Regions from separate parts of the Homo sapiens genome. Here regions 2, 3, 4 and 5 are each linked to region 1. The links are contacts of gene promoters, found by promoter capture Hi-C in blood cells and fetal thymus (Javierre and others, 2016). All regions are on one chromosome and are shown on one strand. The core of a region is centred on a gene start or on the middle of the fragment in contact, and the rest is flanking DNA. Distances in the headings are between cores, read along the strand shown.

Region 1 (2,858 bases), core at 181-2,680:
GGTGGGTGCACAATTCCCTGCTGTGAACCGAGTTTGCTGGAAAACCAAGTAACTAGCACCTCCATCGTAGTCCTACCCAGAGCTTGCAGGCTTTGCACTCACGTAAGACTGATTCTTCCAGAGGCGCCTGGAAGTCCCATTGTGATGGGCAAATGCTCTTACCAGAAATAAACTAGTTGTGGGGACCGGGCGCGGTGGCTCATGCCTGTAATACCAGCACTTTGGGAGGCCGAGGCAGGCGGATCACTTGAGGTCAGGAGTTCGAGGCCAACCTGGCCAACATGGTAAAACCCCGTCTCTACTAAAAATATAAAAATATAAAAATTAGCCGGGAGTGGTGGTGGGTGCCTCTAATCCCAGCAACCCGGGAGGCTGAGGCAGGAGAATCACTTGAACCCGGCAGACGGAGGTTGCAGTGAGCGGAGATCACGCCACTGCATTCCAGCCTGGGCGACAGAAGTAGAGAGACTCCTTATCAAAAAAAAAAAAAAGAAAGAAAGAAAGAAAAAAAAAAAGAAATACACTAATTTTGGGCCTTAAATGCTACTCAGTTCTCCAGTTCACCTCAACAGGGAGGGAAGGTGCTTGGAGGAAAATTGCACTTCGTTTTTGCCCTGCTTATTTTGTCTTCAAAATATATGTTAAATCACCGCATCAAAGAGCCGTCCCAGATCTCAACTCCCAGATGAGTTCGGTGGCACCCAATAGATTTTCATAACACAGGATCTATCTCTGTCTCCTTGTATTGTAATAGCCTGTCTCCAAATGCAGATAGCAACCGGCAGGCTGTAAATGTCGAGGAAAAAGCCTAATTCCTTTCCTCATCCGGAGCCTCTAGTGCAGTACCCAGCACAGAGCAGGTACTTGGTATTTTGGTAAGGGAAATCAATCAACGCATCAATAGCAGAATCTGAAACCAGGGACCTAGATCTTTCCAATAAAATCATCCTGCTGAGATGTGACTCAGATGTACTGGTGCCCAGCAGACAACACGTTTTCGCCCTGATTTTATCCTCCATTCATCCGTCCGCCCCCTCCCCCATAGACCCCGCCTGTCCCCAGCTAAAAATAATGAGGGGATTCACACATCTCAGTGTCAACACACACAACACAGTTGACACGCCCCTTAATCCTACAGCTACGCCATCAATTCTCGCCGCCGGGTCCGTCCGCTTGTCAGTTTCCCCTACTCCTCATCCCCTCGCAACTTCTGATCCCCTATCACTTCCGTTCCCGTTTGCCTGCTAGGCTGGAAGCAGGATGTGTCTACGCCCTCAGCCCATAAGAAGTGCTACAAACCTCCGCCTCGCTCGCTGTCATGGCGGCGACCGACGGCCCCTTTCCTGTGGCCTCAGAAAGCAGCGACAGTCGCAGTCACCGGACCTTCGCCCATCCGCCGCCCTCACTTAAGCGACGCACAACGGAGCTCCCACAATCCTCTTTGCTTCCGCTCTCTTTATTTCCGCCTCCCCCGCCCCCGCCTCGACATTAACCGTTTCGCGACTACGTCAGTTGGCCGGTCTGTTTGGGAGAGCCAGGCGACTAATCTGGTATAGAGACCGAAAAACACAGGTAAAAAGACCTAAAAGACTTAGTCATCTATTGGAACATTTCCCCAGTTTGTTTGTAAGTTGGCTTGCAAGCTTATCAGTCATTCTCAAACAGGAGCTTAACTTACTTAGGTGAACAGTTCATGATGACGCCTTTAAGCTGCTAGACCAACCCAAACTCCGAATTTGCAGTTTCTGACCTTTCACCTTGAACCTGTGCCCTTTCTACCCTCTATTCTCCATCTCCTTTTGGTTCTTGTCTGACTCTTTAGCTGCATATGTAAAGAGCACAGACTTTGAAACCTGAGCTCCCGCGTTCGAATCCCCACTGTACCACTATCTAAACATGGCATCTTGGGCAAGTGATTCAAGCATGCTATTCCTTGGCTTTTTCATCTGTAGAATTGGTATAATAATAGTACTTACCTCCAGAGTTGCAGTAAAAATATTAAAATTTCACATGTGAGGAGCACCTAGAACATTGCCTATCATGAAGTTAAGCAGTATATTGAAATATAAATTATAATGATTGAATTTGATCTCACCTAAGACCTCTGGCTAATAAATAATAAATGATAATAATCATTTCACCTGGGATAGAGGGGATTGCCCTGTTCTCTCCAGGCTGAGGCTGTAATACCTGATTCTAGGGACTGCTGATATGGAAATTACTACCACTCTGGCTGGAGTCAGAAGAGTATATTAAAGAGTCTCTTTGTACTGTCCTAAAATAAGCAAAATCCAACGTTTGCAGTTCTATGGACCACGCACTATGATAAGTGCTTTAAACCCATTTTGTTGTTATTGCTTCATCCTCACAATAGCCCTTTGCTGGTTCTTAAGTGTATTACCCTTTCCTGTCCTCTTTGTCTGCTTAAAGCAGCTAAGAAAACTCAGATTAGTCAGATTGCATATAAATCAATAACTTGCCCACGGTCACAGAGCTAATAACAAATAGAGCCAAGACTTAAACTCAGATACATTCAGATGTGTCTTGGTATTTCTCAAATATCACTGAGAAAAAGGCCACCATAAATTCTTTTCAAGTGCTCTCTCTCCCCCAACTCCCCACCCCAAGAATTGCCTGAATGCCCATACAGAAAGACTAGGTTCTCTTCAGAAGCAGAAGGGCAGAACCCACTAAGGCAAAGATCTCTCCCTTGAAGGCTGGCAGCCAAGGAGGTGACTATAGTAGGAATTGGCATAACCAGCTCACTCATTGCCCTCCACTGTGCCACACAGGCCCCATTACTTCCTATAGTACTGAAGACCACTGGGGATAAAGGTACAGGGCCTTCACCTCATCCC
Region 2 (2,858 bases), core at 100-2,599, 590 kb before region 1:
AGATGGGGGTCTCGCTCTGTCACCAAGGCTGGAGTGCATTGTTGTGATCATAGCTCACTGCAGCCTCTAATTCCTGGGCTCAAGCAATCCTCCTGCCTCAGGCTCACAAGTAGCTGGAATGGCAGGTGTGCACCACAATGCCGGGCTGAGGTGTTTTTGTTGTTGTTGTTGTCGTTGTTGGTTGGTTGGTTGGTTGTTTTTTGCAGAGATGGAGGTCTATTTTGGCCAGGCTGGTCTCTAATTCCTGGCCTCAAGCAATCCTCTCACCTGAGCCTCCCTAACTGCTGGGATTACAGGCATGAGCCACTGCGCCTGGCTAACTTCTGAAGTCACTGCTTCAGCAACTTAAAAACCATACCAATAGACTGAGGATTTCCAGAATTTTTTTAAATTGAGAAGCAGATGGATTCATGAGACTGCTAACCCCAAATCCATCAGAACAAGAGTTAATCATATATGACTGAATTATCTGATGAGGGATTATTGTAGTTTTTTTTAAATATTGCTGATGTTGTTCTATGTTCTGGATATATAATGCAGACTTGTCTTTCTTACATATCTTTAACCCATAACAATTTAGTAGACTTGGCATTTGTAAACTGAAACAAAATATTTGCAAATTATCTTTTTCTCTCTGATACCCCCACCATCTGTAGAATTCACAAATTCAAATTAGGTATTCTACTTTTCATGGTAATATAGTGATCTATACAGGTTCAATAAGAACTTGTCCTCCTTTTAACCAGGATATATTAATAATTGGCAAATTTGGTTATGCAAATAAGGCCTTGTCTGAAATATCATATTTGAGAATGATGCTCACTTAATCAAGTATAACCAGCTACAGTTAGAGAATTAAAATTTAAACTAGAAAGCCCACTGAGGAAAACTGACTTAGTACCTGGCTTTCAGGGTCCCAGCCTTATAGGTGAGAAACGAAGGCCAGGACCTCTGAGATAGTTTGATAACCTCAAGAAGAAAGAATTGGCCCAAATTATATATAGTGCAGGTGAAATCCAGTGAGAAAAGTTTCTTGAGTTTCCTTCATAGCCTCAGGATGAGCAAATAATAAGAGGCTTTTAAAAATCCAATGTGAAAAACCCACAGCTAACATCAAATTCAATGGTGAAAGCCTGAAAGCCTTTCCTTTAAGATCAGGAACAAGACACCTGCATTCAAAATAATTTTGGAAGTTCTAGACAAAGCAATTACATGAAGAAAAAGAAGCATTCAAATTATAAAGAAAGTAAAATTATTTCTGTTCACAGGTGACATTACCTAGTTTGTAGAAAAATTTAAGGATTCCACAAAAGAACTGTTCGAACTAATAAATTCCGCAATGTTGTAGGATACAAAACCAACACATAAAAATCAGTTGCATTTTTATACATTGACAGTGAACAACCCAAAAAGAAAATTAAGAAAACAATTCCATTTTCAATAGCATCAAAAAGAATATAATAATTAGGAATAAACTTAACTAAGGAGGCAAAAGACATCTGCACTGAGAACTACAAAATGTTGATGAAAGAAAATTTAAAAGACAGAAATAAATGGAAATGCATTCTGTGTTCATGGATTGAAAGACTTAATATTGTTAAGATGTCAGTACTAACAAAAGTGATCTATAGATTCAATCCCTATCAAAATCTCAATGATGCAATGATGTTTTTTGCAGGAATAGAAAAATGCATCCTAAAATTCATATGGAATCTCAAGGGATACTGAATAACTAAAACAATCTTGAGAAAGAAGAACAAAGTTGGAGGTCTCACACTACCAGATTTTAAAACTTACCAAAAATCTACAGTAATCAAAATAGTATGGTACTGGCATTAAAGACAGACAAATAAACTAATGAGATAGAATAGAGAGCCTAGAAATAAACTCTCACTTATATGATAATTGATTTTTGACAAGGGTGCCAAGACCATTCCATGAGGGAAAGGACAGTCTCTTTAATGAATATGTGAGGAAAACTGAATATCCACATGCCAAAGAATGAATTTAGATACTTCCCTTACACCATATACAAAAATAAACTCAAAATAGATCAAAGCCCTAAATGTAAATCTAAAACTATCAAACTCTTAGAAGAAAACATGGGGGGGAACCTTCATGACATTAGTTTTGGCAATGATTTCTTGGATAACAAAAGCACAGGCAACAAAAAATAGATAAATTGGATTTATCAAAATAAACTTATGTGCATCAAAGGACACTAACAACATGGTGAAAATGCAATCCATGCAATGGGAGAAAATATTTGCAAATCATATATCTCATAAGGGACTAATATTTAGAATATATAAATAACTCCTACAACTCAACAATAAAAAAAATAATCGAATTAAAAACTCGGCAAAGGACCTGAATGACTATTACTCCAAAGGAGATATACAGATTGCCAATAAGTACACGAAAAGATGCTCAACATCACTAATTAGTAAGGAAATGCAAATCAAACCACACAATGAGATACCACTTCACATTCATTAGGATGGCTATTATACGAGAAAAAAAAAATAACAAGTATTGGCAAGGATGCAGAGAAACTGGAACCCTTGTGCATTGTTGATGGAAATGTAAAATGGTACAGCCACTGTGGAAAACAGCATGGCAATTCCTCAAAAAATTAAACATACAATTAATATATGATCCATCAATTCCACTTTGAGTACATATCCAAAAGAATTGAAAGCAGGAGCTTGAATAGATATTGTATGCCAATGGTCAATAACAGCATTATTCACAATAGCCAAAAGATGGAAACAACCCAAGTGTCCACCAAGGGATGAATAAATAAATAAAATGTGATATAGACATACAATGGAATATTATTCAACCTTAGAAAGGAA
Region 3 (2,858 bases), core at 190-2,689, 570 kb before region 1:
AACTACCATTGACATTCTTCACAGAATTGAAAAAAACTATTTTAAAACTCATATGGAACCAAAAAAGAGCCCAAATAGCCAAGACAATCCTAAGCAAATAGAACAAAGTTGGAGGCATCACACTACCTGACTTCTAACTATACTACAAGGCTACAGTAAACAAAACAGCATGGTACTGGTACAACAACAGACATATAGACTAACAGAACATAATAGAGAACTCATAAATAAGACCACACACCTAGAACTATCTGATCTTCAATAAATCTGACAAAAACTAGCAATGGGGAAAGGATTCCCTATTTAATAAATAGTGCTGGGAGAAATGGCTAGCAATATGCAGAGAATTGAAACTGGACCCCTTCCTTATACCATATATAAATATTAACTCAAGATGGATTAAAGACTTAAATGTAAAACCCAAAACTACAAAAACCCTATTAGAAAATCCTAGGCAATACCATTCAGGACATAGGCACAGGCAATTGCAACAAAAGCAACAATTGACAAATGAGATCTAATTAAACTAACGAGCTTCTACACAGCAAACAAAACTCATCAGAGTGAACAGACAACCTACAGAACGGGATAAAATTTTTGCAATTTATCCATCTGACAAAGGTCTAATATCCAGTCTCCAAGAAGCTTAAACAAATTTACAAGAAAAAAACAGCCCATTAAAAAGTAGGCAAAGACATGAACACACACTTCTCAAAAGAAGACATACATGAGGCCAAAAAACATGTGAAAAAAACCTCAACATCACTGATAGAGAAATGCAAATCATAACCACAATGATATACCATCTTAAGCTAGTCAGAATGGCTATTATTAAAAAGTCAAAAAACAACAGATGCTGGTGAGGCTGCAGAGAAAAAGAAACACTTTTACACTGTTGGTGGGAGTATAAATCAGCAACCATTGTGGAAGACTGTGGCGATTCCTCAAAGACCTGGAACCAGAAATATCATTTGACTGAGCAATCTCATTACTGGGTATATACCCAAAGGAATATAAATCATTCTGTTATAAGGATACATGCACCCGTATGTTCATTGCAGCACTAATCACAATAGCAAAGATATGGAATCAACTGAAATGCCCATCAATGATAGACTAGATAAAGAAAATGTGGTACATATACACCATGGAATACTATGCAGCCATAAAAAGGAATGAGATCATGTCTTTTGCAGGCACATGGATGGAGCTAGAAGCCATTATTCTCAGCAAACTAATGCAGGAACAGAAAACCAAACACCATGTGTTCTCACTGGGAGCTGAATGATGAGAACACATGGACACATGTCAGGGAACAACACACACAGGGGCCTGCTGGGGGCAGGGAGGGAGAGCATAAGGAAGAATAGCTGGTGGCTGCCAGGCTTAATACCTGGGTGATGAGATGATCTATACAGCAAACCACCATGGCACATGTTTATCTACATAACAAACCTTCACATCCTGCACATGTGCCCCTGAGCTTAAAATAAAAGTTGAAGAAAGAAAATTATCATTGTGGGTAACTATTAGAAGTGAAATTACTGGCACAAAAGATCAAATATTAATTTTTTTTTTTGAGACGAAGTCTCACTCTGTCGCCCAGACTGGAGTGCAATGGCGTGATCTCGGCTCACTGCAACCTCTGCCTCTCGGGTTCAAGCAATTCTCCTGCCTCAGCCTACCGAGTAGCTGGGATTACAGGCGCCCACCACCACGCCCAGCTAGTTTTGGTATTTTTAGTAGAGATGGGGTTTCACCATCCTGGTCAGGCTGGTCTTGAACTCCTGACCTCAGGTGATCCACCCGCCTCAGCTTCCCAAAGCGCTGGGATTACAGGTGTGAGCCACCGTGCCTGGCCGATATTTTTATTTTTAAATAATTTACAAAGTTGATCTTCAGAAAAATTTCACCAACATATTCAATAAGAGCAGGGGAGAGTGCATGTGTCCCCAGTCCTTCAACAAATCTGTTAAAAATTTTCATGTAATCTAATCTATCAGCATTTGTCTCTTTGTTGTACAGTCACACTGCGTATCGATTGGTCAACGACAACGGACAGCATAGAATACGATAGGCTATAGTATGTAGCCTAGGAGTGTAGTAGGCTATACCATATAGATTTGTATAACTACACTCTACGATGTTCGCACCACCACGAAATTGCCTGATGCATTTCTCAGAACATATCCCCGTTATTAAGTGGCACGTGACTATAAAGGCCTTCCACACCAAAAGCTTATGTGGAGATAAACGGAGTCTACCCATAAGAGAACAAACAAGTGCTACTTATTCACAGCTTTTTTATAGCAAGGAAGTCAAGCCACCATCATTTGAGTCTGGCAGAGATTCAAAGACAGGCAGGGGAGTGGGAAAGCTTTATAGTGGAAAACAAAAACACAAAGACTTCAGCTACGCTCTGATTGGATGTTGTTGACGTGAGGAAGCTAGAGGCAGGCCAACTAGAGGCAAGCATCCTATGTGATTGAATATGGGTTCATATTTGGGTTTTTCTTGTTTGTCATCAGGTCAAAAAAATTAAAAAGGCCAGAAAGGCTAGCAAATTGATTAAAGTCCTGAACATTTCTGCAGATGCTATACTTTGGCTTTTTGAGCTGCTTGCAGCAAAGGTTGTGGGTCACAGTTCTATTTTCGTATGTGGTCTGGTCATTGTATATTCAGTTTCTCACTTAAGATAAATTAATCGTTGTTTTATTTTGCTTCAAATATAACTTTATTTTTTATTCATTTGAAAATTTATGTTTGTACATGTCAGGAAAAAGGGACAATTTCATTTATTTTGGAAAATTTTTCTTAAGTTTTTTCTAAAGGGCAATATTCTATTCTTTATACAGTAC
Region 4 (2,858 bases), core at 127-2,626, 550 kb before region 1:
TACTTTTTTCTTCATCTATTAAAATAATCATATGATTGTTAGACTTTATTCTCTTAATGTGGTAAATTACATTAATTGATTTTCAAATATTATACCAATCTTTCATTTCTGGAATACCTTAACTTGTATGTAGTATATTATTATTCTCATATATGGTCAGGTTCTTTCTTCTTTAAATTTTTTTTCAGTTATGTCAATGAGTTACATTGACCTATATTTTTCTTTTCCCATAATGACCTTGTCGGGTTTTGATATTAAGGTTATACCAAATCTTAAAATGACTTGCAGAGTATTCTCTCTTTTTTAATTATCTGGAAGACTGTGTTGGATGGATATTATTTTCTTCACTAGTGAAGTTATCTGGGCCTAAAATTTTCCTGGTCGGAAACATTTTGGAAGATTTTAAATATGAATTTTATTTATTTATTTCTTATTTATTTATATTGAAATCTTCAAGATGAGGTTTTATCTGAATACAGTAAGTATTGTGGTTTAATAATCTGTACCTGATAAATCAAATAATTCAAATCATATTGATCTATTTGTGTTGCCTGTTGTTTCTATTTGTTACTCATAACGTATTTTTTTCGTGCACCTGGTTATCTTTGTGTGTGGATATTGTATTTCAGCAATTGTTGTAATAATCTAAGGCCTAAGATGATAAAAATCTTACTCTAGAGAAGATTTTATTTGCATTGGTCAGGCCCATAAGAGTGCCTCCTGGCCAGGTGCGGTGGCTCACGCCTGTAATCCCAGCACTTTGGGAGGCCAAGGTGGGTGGATCACAAGGTCAGGAGTTTGAGACCAGCCTGAACAACATGGCGAAACCCTGTCTCTACTAAAAATACAAAAATATTAGCCAGGCGTGGTGGTGCATGCCTGTAATCCCAGCTACTCAGGAGGCTGAAGCATAAGAATTGCTTGAACCTGGGAGATGGAAGTTGCAGTGAGCTGAGATTGCGCCATTGCACTCCAGCCTGGGCAACAGAGTGAGACTCTGTCTAAAAAAAAAAAAAAAAAAAAAAAAAAAAAAAAATGCTTCCTGTTTGTTACCACCATAATATTTGTTCAGAACTTACAGTTCACTAGTCCACCCAGATGATGCAAAGCCAAGCTACAAGACTTTGTAAGGGCTAGTATATTTTTTGATTACAATTACCCTGAAGGTATAAACATTTGCGGTTCCCAGCATACTATGGGTGATGGTTTGTCAGGAAACACTCCACCCCTTTTGATGGGCCTTGGGCTCTGACTTCTGTTACTATAGTGCCTTGAATGTGCCATAAGTTCCACGCAGTTTAGCACAGGCTTATTACTCAACCACAGATACCTTCAATAAAAATATAGTTTTAAGTCCTAGGCTTACCTCTCTGGATGCTTCTGTTCTCTTGTAGTATAACCTAGCAATTCCTCACAATTGTATTAATTTTGTAGCCTTTTAGAGATCTGACGTTTTGTAGTTCTTTTCAATGGGTGGGTTGCTCTAAATCATCTAGTCCGCCATTACCAGAAGCAGATACACACACACACACACATATATACATATACACACACACACACACACACACACACACACACACACACACACACACATATATATACCTGTTTTCATCAATGGGATATTTGAATAATCATGCAAGAGGATGCAAAGATGAATATGGCACAGTCTCCATCTTTAGGGGGCTTATAGGGGGATACAGAAATGGAAAGAGCCAATTACAAAACCTAATGAGTGTTAACAATGGGGAAATAAAGGTGCTAAAAGAACAGATAAGGGATCTAGACTTGAGAGTTCAGGGATGGCTCTTCTTTCAGAATGTGATTAATTTCTTTTTATATCAAAAGCCCATTAAACAGAAGAGGAGTTAAACCTCTACTCCAACCTTTGTGAACACAGAAAGCAGGTTCAGCTATGAGCCAATTGGAAAACAGCTTCTTCGGAGACTGAGATTTTCTGAGCAAATCACCATGTATCAGCATAGGGACCATAGAAGACAAGATCATATCTGATGTCCCACATCTGACCACCTCCCTGATGAGCTACCACTATTTCTCCCAGTGCACACGTGCACACACACACACACACACACACACAAACGTGGAAAGGTACAAGGATATATGGTACAAAAACCTTTGTTAAGGGCAACATGAAAGGTAGAGACCCTGTGCAACAGGGGAAGGAAAGATCACTTCCAGCTAGGGTGGCTTCAGAGGCTGAGTGATGAGGGTTGGCCTCTAAGAATGGGCAGGACTAGGACCTCTAGGGGGAATAAGAAGGCAGTTGGCAGGAAGTAAATGACACATAAGGACAATGAGAGGGAAGAATAAGGCATACTTGGGGCACATTGAGTGAGGGCAGAGAAGTGCATGACTAGGTTGAGAATGTGTGTCCTGGGGCTCAATTCTGATGGATGCTGAATGTCAGGATGAAGAGTGCAGAATTTACTCTGTGGGTGGTAGGTTTACCGTCAGCGCCTTCAAGCAGGAGAATGGCAGTTAAAAGCAGGGAAGAGTAAAGTTTAATTTGATGGTAATGTACAAGATTTATCTTAAGGAAGGGGCAGGGCTGGAAGCAGGAAAACTAGAGAAGAGATTATTCTAAGAGTTCAAATGAGAAATGGTGAAGCTCTAAGGTAGTGACAGATTCAGGAGATACAGCGAAGCAGGAAGGAGAGCTTTGTCTGTGGGAGAGGGACAAATCAGATGAGACCTTGATTTCAAGTTGGGGCAACCTGACCATTTAATAAAGATAGGCCAGTATAATTAATGTAAGACCAGGAACTATAGTCAAACAGCTGAGTTTTCCCTCCCTACCTCCTTGTAGGTCCCGCCTATCATCTGAGGCCCAAGTCAAGGTC
Region 5 (2,858 bases), core at 115-2,614, 520 kb before region 1:
AGGCAGTTAGATATGTGTTTGAAGTTTGGAAAAGAGATTAGAATGGAAATATCAATTTTGGCTTATGATACCAGGAACATAGCAAGTGGCCCAGGAGTATTTGTTGAATTAAATGAATGAATGAAGAATGCAATTGTATACTCTTCTATCCTTTTCTATGAATATGTATTTTTCAAACAGAAGTGGGATTCTACTGAACACACTGGTTCATATCCTGTGTGTAAAAAAAATAAACTTTTTCTTTAAACTTTCTTTTTACCAAGATAATACCTGTTTCAGGAGAATGTTTACATATTGAGGTAAGTGCCACCCGGTGATCAGAGTCAGGATTGTGGGTCAAACATGGCTAACAAAGGAGAGCAGGGAGGAGAGAAACTATGAGAGGAGAGCTGGTGGAGAGGCTTGATATTTGGGAAGGGAATGTCTCAACCCTGACTCACACTGGAACCACACAAGTATCAGGCTCTTCTTGGGGATTGAGGTGGCCCAAGAAGCAACATATAGTTAGGTGGTTTTTCCTTGTCTCAAGTCAAGATAAGCGTGTGCATCTATGTGTGCATATGTATGTGTGTTTAAGCTGAATTGTCTTATACTATTTTCACTTTTTCTCTGATTGTAGAAGTTATATATTTCTACTAGAAAATATATGGAAATGCAGAAAAGTGTAAGAAGAAGATGCCTACAGTTCCCAATATTGAGGAGCATGTACTTACATTGTGTGTGTATATCTCCTTTTATGTATTCTATCCATTTACTTTGTTATAAAGTAAACATATATATTATATTACATATATAATACATTTAAATGCCTTTATGTATTCATTTTTATATATGTAATTATATCTTACAGAGCATATGTTTTCTTTTCTTTTTTTTTTTTTTTTTTTTTTTTTTGCTCTGTCACCCAGGCTGGAGTACAGTGGCACGATCTCGGCTCACTGCGACCTCCACCTCCTGGGTGCAAGCGATTCTCCTGCCTCAGCCTCCCAAGTAGCTGGGACTACAGAGGCATGCCACCATGCCTGGCTAATTTTCTTTTTCTTTTGTATTTTTAGTAGAGATGGGGTTTCACTGTGTTAGCCAGGATGGTCTTGATCTCCTGACCTCGTTTTCCACCCACCTTGGCCTCCCAAAGTGTTGGGATTACAGGCGTGAGCCACTGCGCCCAGCCTATTTTCTTTATTCTCTTACTTTTATTTACATATGTGCCATGACATTCATCTGTATGAGTATTCCATCAACCACACTTCTTGATGGTGATGTCAATGATGAAAATAAAATTGTGCTCTTTGGTCTCAGGGACCTATGTCTGAGGGCCACATGTATGGATGGGCTCCCCAAAAAGCATAAGGCAAGGGAAAGATCACTGGCTTTGTTTGGAGTTGAGGAAAGAAATTTAAAATGGTCAAGCACCTGCTTTGGGACAGATACTTCATACTTGGAGTTTCCTTTAATCCTTTTAACACTTTTAGGAAGGTATTGCTTATTATAGATGAGAAAACTGAAGCCCCGAAAAGTTTAGGTGGCTTACACAGGGTCACACAGCCAGTCAATGGAGGAACTTTATTTGAACTCAAATTTGTCTGACTCTTAAGTCTGACCTTTTAACCATTATGCTTTGCTTGCTCCTAAAATTTCACACTTTCTCTCTCATTGCCAAATCTAGTGGCATTCATCTTTTAGATGTCAGAAAATTTGTGAACACTCTGCTATTCTCATGCCCCACTGTTATAGGGTTTGAATTTTTATGCTACAAGCATGCTTCTGCAATCAGAAAAATTAATAAAGAATTATCTTTCAAAATATTTAAAGTAAAAAATGTATCTCAAAGAATATTAAATGGCACATGAGAAACTGTAATGAAATATTTAAACATATATTATAGATTTAGACATAATATCTTTTAAAAGTAAAAAACTCTGCTCACCCAATAGAAAATGGGCAAAGTACATGGAGCAGTAACTCACATAAGAAACTATATACATACATATATATACACACATATATATGTGTATATATATGTATATATGTATATATACACACATATATGTGTATATATGTATATATGTACATATATACTTATATACTATATGTTATAATAAAAACATATTAATAGATGCCATGTATACATATATAATATACTTACACATACATAAATATAAATACATATATAGTCATAGGCTCTAAATGACATTACGTAAATGGCATCCTATCCTATGTTTCATTCAGCAAAATGTTCTTTTTTTCATTCAATAGTATGTCCTGGAAATCTATCCATATTATTACCTATAGATCTAGTTCATATGTAGCTGCTGCACCTATTGCAGACTCTGAACATACTGCAATGTATTCCCTAATTATAGAGATTTAGGTTTCCAGTGCTTTACTGTTATAAACACGCTGAAATGGCCTTTCTTGTTCATGCCTCCTTGTATATCTGTGTATTTCTTAGGATTGGTGACTAGAAGTGGAATTGTTGGGTCATGAGGTGCATTTAGGGGCACTGCCAAACTGGCTTCTCTAATGGACATTTGTCATCTGAATTCTTGTGAGACTTTGACTGGTCTGGTCTAGTCAAGCCTTTGAGGCTAAGCCTGCATGCCTTTGCTGATGCTGCTACTTCTGTCTAGACTGCCCTTCCCTTCTCTGCTCAGCAAAATTCTATTAAATCATTAAAACTCAACTAAAGTACCACTTACTCTCAGATGAGTTAAGTGTTCTTTCCTGGTTCTCCTGAAGTATCCGGTGACTTAGACTTCATTATCATGTACTAAAACTATGTTTAAGCATGTATATCCTTTATAAGTTAATGAACTGCTCAAAGACATTTGTGGCTTATTCATCAGCATATACAGGAC

The links. The method cuts DNA at HindIII sites, captures the fragments that hold promoters and counts their contacts. A CHiCAGO score of 5 or more calls a contact.
Region 2: a contact is called between a fragment that was not itself captured here and the fragment with the promoter of SLC25A53 in region 1, in 1 of 17 cell types (total B cells). The highest score is 5.4, in total B cells.
Region 3: a contact is called between a fragment that was not itself captured here and the fragment with the promoter of SLC25A53 in region 1, in 1 of 17 cell types (monocytes). The highest score is 5.3, in monocytes.
Region 4: a fragment that was not itself captured here is called in contact with the fragment with the promoter of SLC25A53 in region 1 in 1 of 17 cell types (naive B cells); the score reaches 6.4 in naive B cells.
Region 5: a contact is called between a fragment that was not itself captured here and the fragment with the promoter of SLC25A53 in region 1, in 2 of 17 cell types (neutrophils and activated CD4 T cells). The highest score is 5.8, in neutrophils.

The regions. Positions count from the first base shown.
Region 1 is chrX:104,155,579-104,158,436 of GRCh38, forward strand. SLC25A53 (solute carrier family 25 member 53) reads right to left here and starts at 1,431. Exons shown (of 2, transcript NM_001012755.5): 1 at 1,300-1,431. It also overlaps a transcript of FAM199X not described here. RefSeq lists an enhancer at 1,205-1,504. The HindIII fragment of the contact is 6,927 bases long and covers 1-1,641 here.
Region 2 is chrX:103,566,329-103,569,186 of GRCh38, forward strand. No RefSeq gene overlaps it. Among named protein-coding and RNA genes, the nearest start is that of LINC02589, 13 kb to the left of the region's middle. The HindIII fragment of the contact is 4,593 bases long and covers 1-2,858 here.
Region 3 is chrX:103,582,367-103,585,224 of GRCh38, forward strand. It overlaps a transcript of TCEAL4 not described here. Among named protein-coding and RNA genes, the nearest start is that of TCEAL4, 1.7 kb to the right of the region's middle. The HindIII fragment of the contact is 1,593 bases long and covers 644-2,236 here.
Region 4 is chrX:103,600,926-103,603,783 of GRCh38, forward strand. No RefSeq gene overlaps it. Among named protein-coding and RNA genes, the nearest start is that of TCEAL3, 5.6 kb to the right of the region's middle. The HindIII fragment of the contact is 2,991 bases long and covers 1-2,858 here.
Region 5 is chrX:103,635,213-103,638,070 of GRCh38, forward strand. No RefSeq gene overlaps it. Among named protein-coding and RNA genes, the nearest start is that of TCEAL1, 7.7 kb to the left of the region's middle. The HindIII fragment of the contact is 8,309 bases long and covers 1-2,858 here.